Regions from separate parts of the Homo sapiens genome. Here region 2 is linked to region 1. Evidence: promoter capture Hi-C in 16 types of primary human blood cells and fetal thymus (Javierre and others, 2016). All regions are on one chromosome and are shown on one strand. Each heading gives the region's core, a stretch centred on a gene start or on the middle of the fragment in contact. The rest is flanking DNA. Distances are from core to core; before and after follow the strand shown.

What was found. The method cuts DNA at HindIII sites, captures the fragments that hold promoters and counts their contacts. A CHiCAGO score of 5 or more calls a contact.
Region 2: a fragment that was not itself captured here is called in contact with the fragment with the promoter of OR10J1 in region 1 in 1 of 17 cell types (neutrophils); the score reaches 6.3 in neutrophils.

Annotation. Positions count from the first base shown.
Region 1 is chr1:159,437,806-159,441,304 of GRCh38, forward strand. It overlaps OR10J1 (olfactory receptor family 10 subfamily J member 1), which reads left to right and starts at 1,917. Exons shown (of 1, transcript NM_012351.3): 1 at 1,917-3,162. The coding sequence starts at 1,987. The coding sequence ends at 2,916. The HindIII fragment of the contact is 2,085 bases long and covers 980-3,064 here.
Region 2 is chr1:159,989,050-159,992,955 of GRCh38, forward strand. No RefSeq gene overlaps it. Among named protein-coding and RNA genes, the nearest start is that of LINC01133, 30 kb to the left of the region's middle. The HindIII fragment of the contact is 2,876 bases long and covers 199-3,074 here.

The DNA of each region.
Region 1 (3,499 bases), core at 667-3,166:
CACAGAGGGGTTATCAAGAATGCCTATGACTCTCAAACCTGACTATATTCCTACTAGTGTGTGTTTATGCCCTGCCTGCTCAGCCTCAGGTCCTGCCGTAGGCACTCTTGGTCACCTTGCTCACCTTGGTCACCCTATGCCTATCCATTGTGGCCAAGGGAGCCTGACATTTCAATCTTTACTCCTCGGCCTCCTCCAGCCCAGCTTTCCCGTTGTGCCTCAGTGCTAAGCAGAGTCATGTGAGTGGTCTTTAGAAGAAGGACTGAAATGGGGCTCATTACATATGAGCTGACTTTAATTTATTGTAGTATTTCAGGTCCTATCACAGCTGGACAGGTCTTCATAAGCTATATTTGCTCTTCCTTCCATTTCCTTTGAAGAATTATAGACTTCCAAGAGTGGGGAGGATGCTAACCAAATCATAATAGCCATTCTTCTACCTCAAGACAGACAAGTTTCAGCCAGATAAGATGATATTTTAGCCGTGTGTTTCTCAATGGGAACTTTATTGGTATTTGGAAGAAGGGAATTCTTCCTTGGGCAGAATCACCACAAGTTTTGCAGGACATTTCACATCGTGAATGGCCAAGAGCTTCTGTGCTCATTATTGTAACAGTTAAAAGCTCTGCCAAGCATTTCTGATTTCACCATAGAGGCACCATACCACTCCGTGGCTGGACTACTACATAGTTTTTGCTCAGAAGCCTCACAGAAGACAAATGTCTTTAGACATATATTTTAGTATCAAATGATTTTCTTTATTGGAAAATATTCTCTATTGCAGCTTTACTTTCTTTTTAGCATTCTTAGTGTAAATGATTAACAGCTGGTCATCAACTTCTTTTAAATAGATTTTTATGAACTTGAAGAAAGTCTCCGTGCGTACTAACCTTCATCATTGATGTGATTTACTTTATGCAAAACTTCTCTTTCTGAATATGCATAAGCAAATCAGAATATAATTTAAATACCCTAGAGAAGCTTACTGTTTAAAGAGATAAAAATGTGAAATATTACATAAATTGAACTGATCCCCTTCCTTCAACAAAATGATGTATCTTTGGTGTAGCTGTTTTTTTATATTCAGGGTTTGCTTTTGCTTTAGGTGAGGGACACTTAAATTTGCTGTATCTTTCCTGATACAATTGTTTATCTCTGCAGAGTGGGTGTAGGCTTACTCACAAAGTTGTATTGGCTATAAATTTGCCTTCTAGTTTAGGGAAGGTAAAGATGTAGCATAGTTTATAACATACGTGAATCAGTGCTCTGAACTGTCAGCAGACTTCCATCACTCAGACAGAAGTGGGGAGAGGCTGGTGGTTGGCTAAGATTTTCCTTTTTCTTCTTGAAGACAAGATGAACCTTTCTACTTTGCTTCTAATTCTTAAAGGATGCGCAAGGAGGATGATTCATAGTCTTGAAAGAAAAGACATCACTAGTCCATCCCTAAACAAATTATTTTCAAGCACCCAATCCATGCATAATTTGGAGCTAGTGAAATATGAAAAGATGTAAAAGGTATTATAAAGTTGCTAAGTGTTTGTATGAGGTGAGGCAGCAATAATGGGGTAAAAATAATCCAAATAAACATGAGAACCTCTGAGTGTAATACGGTTTTATGAAGGCCTGAAAATGTGCACTCATCTCTGAAGAGTAGGAAAGAAATAAGAGGAGAAAAGAGAAGCCATTCCAGATGTCAGGGAGGAAGAGTAGATATGAAGTAGGAGCATGTATGGTTATACAGTGAAAAAGTGAGACTATATGATTCTATGATGCATGGAAAATTATAACAGATGGTCACAGAGTAAAAATATTTTAAGTAAAGATAAGTAAACCCAGGGATTAACTTAATCCACTAGGAAATACATCACCAGATTTGTAACTGAGAACTATTGAACTTCAATCAATTTCAGAAATGTGCTTCTACTGCTTTACTGGGACTATGTGACTTTTATGCTTTTATGTTTCAGATTTGGGAACCAATCCATGAAAAGAGAGAACTTTACTCTCATCACTGACTTTGTTTTCCAAGGTTTCTCTAGCTTCCATGAGCAGCAGATCACCCTTTTTGGCGTGTTCCTTGCACTATACATCTTAACCTTAGCAGGCAATATCATCATTGTGACCATCATCCGAATGGATCTTCATCTTCACACACCCATGTACTTCTTCCTGAGCATGCTGTCCACTTCAGAGACTGTATATACATTGGTCATTCTCCCAAGAATGCTCTCCAGCCTCGTAGGTATGAGCCAGCCCATATCATTGGCAGGGTGTGCCACACAGATGTTCTTTTTTGTAACCTTTGGCATCACTAACTGCTTCCTGCTCACAGCAATGGGATATGACCGCTATGTGGCCATCTGCAACCCCCTGAGATACATGGTTATTATGAACAAGAGGCTGCGTATCCAACTTGTCCTGGGGGCCTGCAGCATTGGGCTGATTGTAGCAATAACGCAAGTGACATCTGTATTCAGGTTACCCTTCTGTGCTAGAAAGGTGCCCCACTTCTTCTGTGACATCCGCCCTGTGATGAAGCTCTCCTGCATTGACACCACTGTCAATGAAATCCTGACTTTGATTATCAGTGTGCTGGTGCTTGTTGTACCTATGGGTCTGGTTTTCATTTCTTATGTTCTCATTATCTCTACAATCCTCAAGATTGCTTCAGTTGAGGGCCGGAAGAAGGCTTTTGCCACCTGTGCATCCCACCTCACTGTGGTCATTGTCCACTACAGCTGTGCCTCCATTGCCTACCTCAAGCCCAAGTCAGAGAACACCAGAGAACATGACCAGCTGATCTCGGTGACCTACACTGTCATCACTCCCCTACTGAACCCTGTGGTATACACCCTGAGAAATAAAGAGGTCAAAGATGCTCTGTGCAGGGCTGTTGGTGGGAAGTTTTCCTGACCATGTAGGAAGAGTTCTCCTGAGGCTGTCAACATCCACACTAGGCAGGAATATGAGGTGTAAACTCACAAACACTTGGCTCCTAGAGACCTGCCCCTTAAATAAGAGGCAAAAGAGGAATAGCAGTTTCATACAACTGGGAGTCTGAAGCTTTAAATAAAGTTACTGGATGGAGTGTTATCCCTATTTTTGGGGATAAATAGACAAACAAGGATAAGATATGCCTAAATAAAAGGCCAGAAAGTAGTATGGGCTGAGAATTTTTTACTGACCTTTTGGTTTCTTTGTGAATCTCCACCTAATGAAGGCAATAGAAAGCCCCTTGAGAAAATAGAATCCAAGACACACTTAAAATCTTTTTCCTATAATCCCTTTCTTCCTATACTAGAGCACCAGGGCTTCTGAAACTGGATTCCCTATTGGAGTATGTTTATGACATGTCAAGTAATAAGTTACTGTGTGGGGAGGGAAAGTGGCCTCAGGATTAGATAGCCCAGGAGAAATAGATGTTCTCTCCTGGATGTGTTAATTTATCCCAGATTCTAGCAAAACTGCTTATTAAAGATGGTGAGCATACACAGTT
Region 2 (3,906 bases), core at 387-2,886, 550 kb after region 1:
GCCACTGCACTCCAGCCTGGGCAATAGAGACTCCATCTCAAAAAATAATAATAATAATAATAATAATAGTACAGTGTTCCCTTGCTCAATACATAGTTGGGTTTGCTTAAGTTAAACAAGCATATAATGTAATTCCTTATTTGAGATTTTGTGTTTGCATTTTTAAATTAATAAGACATTTGTGATAAATTTTGGAGAAGCTTCTTTTACACTTTAAGACATCTAGTTTAGCCAAGACCATATTGAACCTGCCCATAGTCCATTGACAAGAGAAATGAAAATCCTCTTTCAGGAGGTAGCTGCAAAAGAATATGAATGCTTCTTTGGGCCCTCTATGTAAAACATGGCAACAAAAGGACTCAAGCCAGATCTTCTATCTCCATCCATCTCAGAAAGAATAATTCATAATGAGCGAAAAACAGCAAAATTGTGTCACTAAAATGACCTGAGACTTGGAATTAGGCAAAAGAAAATTCTAAGTGTTCTTTCAGTGCAGTACAGGGCATGATTTCTATGGACTATGTTATTTTACAATACTGTAGGAATACACCAGGCACAGTGGTTCGTGCCTGTAATCCCAGAAATTTGGGAGCCTGAGGCAGGAGGATCCCTTGATCCCAGGAAGGACCAACCTGGGCAACACAGTGAGACTCTGAGAGACAAGCGCTGGACACAGGAGCAGGCCACATGGGATGGTCTGGACAGGCTCTGCAGCACAGCAGCCTTCATGAGAAACAGGCAGAAGGGCCCGGGCATGAGAAGCTACTGCAAACAAAAAGCAGCAGCAGCTATAAAGGGCTTGTTCCCAAGCAACATGAATCATCTCTGAACTGGTCTGGTCCAATCCCTATAGTCTAACTAGCAAATATATTTTTTAAAATATTAGCAAACACACACACTAAAAACAGATTTTCATCTTTGCCAAGTGTGTGTTTTTTTCCTACACCAACCTATTATCCAATTCTCCTACAACAACTGAGTATCCTATAATTCAGTTCAACTCTGAGACTCAGTGGCGGGCAGACTCCACAGGCTTAAGGGCACAGTCCCATAGGATTGCCCTCACTTCTGATGCCAGTCACAAGCATCAGATCTCCAGGCTACCCACATTTGCATCTGACTTGGCTACAAAGTCAGGCTTCCCACACCCCACCCCTTGCCAGGGTTCAATAATTTGCTAGAATGACTCATAGAACTCAGGGGCCACTTTACTTACATTTACCGATTTATTATAAAGGATACAAATGAAGAGCCAAAGGAACAGGCCCAGAAGATGAGGTCCGGGAGGGTCCGGAGCACAGGGCTTCTGTCCCCATGGAGTTGGGATACACCATCCTCCCAGTATGTGAACGTGTTCACCAACTCAGAACCTCATTGTTTAAAGGTTTTTATGGAGCTTTTATTACATAGGGATGATTGATGGAATCATTGGTCATTGGTGACTAAATTCAATCTCCAGCCCCTCTCCCTTCCCCATATGAGGAGGGGGTGGAGCTGAAACTTCTGAGCTTTATCAGAACTTGATCAGAACTAGCTCCCATCTTAAAGTGATCTAGGGGACCCTGCCAAGAGTCACCTCATTAGCACAAACACAGATTGCTGAAAGGGGTGCATAATGAATAACAAAAGATGCTCCTATTGCTCAGGAAATTTCAAAGGTTTCAGGAGCTTTGCGCCAAGGACAAAGAACAAATTTTTTTTCCTATTATATATTCCAATGAATCCAGACAAGTTCATCAGAAAGTCAAACATATTGGTTGTCACAGTATATCTAAATAAGTTATATTTTTCTATGAAATGACAAAGATCATCATATTTGATCTAACCATATACTGTCCACAAGAGGCACATCTAAAACAAAAATAAATAAATAAAAATAAAAAATAAAAAGATAGAAAAAGATATAGTATACAAAAAGAATTAAAGTCCTAAACTATTAAAATAAAGGATAAGTAGTAAAAATCAAGATCTGCAATGAAGATGTGTTTGTCATAAATCTTTAGTTTCTGAATAAGAGGAAAATGACCAAAACACAATTGCTGTGGAGATTTCATCAGTTCTTAACAGATCAAGTAAACAAACAAAAGATGTAGAATGTCAGAAAAAAGTCATTGCTGGGATCCACTTTGTAAATATTGAAAAAAAAAACAAAAAAAATCTTTTTCAGGGTCTATGGAACAATTTTTTAAAATTGATTACATATTAAACCACTAAAAACCTTAAATAAATTTCAAGCCCAGAAATTTCATGACTACATTGCATACCACAATACAGTAAAACCAGAAATTGAAAAAATGTGTAAACAAAAATCGTCCAACTACTTGGTTTGAAAACACTCTTCAAAATAATCCACGGATCAAACAGGAAACGAAAACTGCAATTTACAGAACTCTTGGGCAATAATGATAATGAAAATACCACATATCAACATCAAGAGAAGACATCCACATCTGTAATCAGAAGTGTAAAATCAACTTTAGCCTAAAGCTGCAGACTTACTTATTTTAAGTTCGGTCTAAAGGCTTCTCAGTACATCGTGAACTGTAACCTACCTGGATGTATAAACAGACTGTAGCCTACTTTTGTGCCAATCAAGTTTGGGCCAATCACAGGCTGCCAACCATTCAAACTGTGTTCAAATAAGCTAAATGCCTGAGCTGTAACCAATCCAGCTGTTTCTGTGCCTCACTTCTGTTTCCTGTAAGTCACTTTTCTTTTCCTGTTCGTAAATATTGCTCCACCACACAGCAGCGCCATAGTCACTCTGATCCTATTCTAGTTTGGGAAGCTGCCTGATTCACAAGTCATTATTTGCCCAGTTAAGCTCTGCTAATGTTAATTTCTCTAAAGTTTATCTTTTAACAGAAGTGACTTCAAAGGGTTTGAGGAAAATGGTAATGAACATTTGTTGAGCAATTACTGTCTGCCAGACACTGTGCTAAGCACTTTTACAAGTGGTTTCTCAATGATTCCCCATAACTAACCTGAATTGCTTTAATTATCAAATAAGAAAGAATGAGAATATATGAAGTAAGCATATAACTCAAGATGTCAAAAAGAGGGATGTTAAATTAAGCTTTAGAAACAGAATAAAGTAATAAAGTTAAGAGATGAAACTCATGAGAAACCTGTGAAGGAACAGAATTGATCAATCAGCCCCAGCAGGTGTACATAGCAGAAGCTGTCATGCTTCTCCCATATGCTCAGAGCCACATCACTTCAGTGTCTTCCAAAAGAATTCCAATGCCAGTGTCTGCATTCCTTTGCCTACCAGCCTTTTCTGAGACTGTAAGCAGCCTTTCTGCCTGTGCCTGAGACAGGCTATAAGTGCCAGGGAATTAACACCCTGACACCACCCACCGCCACACACAGTAACCTTCAACTGGTGACTGTCAGGAGTTGTATATAAATAACTCCCCTCTGCCACCTCAGGAGTGGAACCCCTCTGAGGCATGCTTTTACTCCCCAGATATTCCCACCACATCCCAGTGCCTACAGAGGCAGATGGCTGGATAATTCCTCCTCTATGGGCCACATTTCTACCCCTGTGTCTCCTCCCTGCTCCCCACCAGGATTTTCCTGCACCAACCAAAAAACAACTTGAACTCAAATCCTTTTCTCAGAGGGAAACCCAAGCCATATACTGAATAAACATTAAAAAAAAAAATCAGCCGGACGCGGTGGCTCATGCCTGTAATTCCAGCACTTTGGGAGGCAGAGGCGGGTGGATCACCTGAGGTCAGGAGTTTGAGACCAGCCTGACCAACATGAAAAAACCCCATCTCTAGTAAAAATACAAAATTAGCTGGGCATGGTAGCGCATGCCTGTAATCCCAGCTACTCAGGAGGCTGAAGCAGGAGAATCACTTGAACCCGGGAGGCAGAGGTTGCAGTGAGCGGAGATCA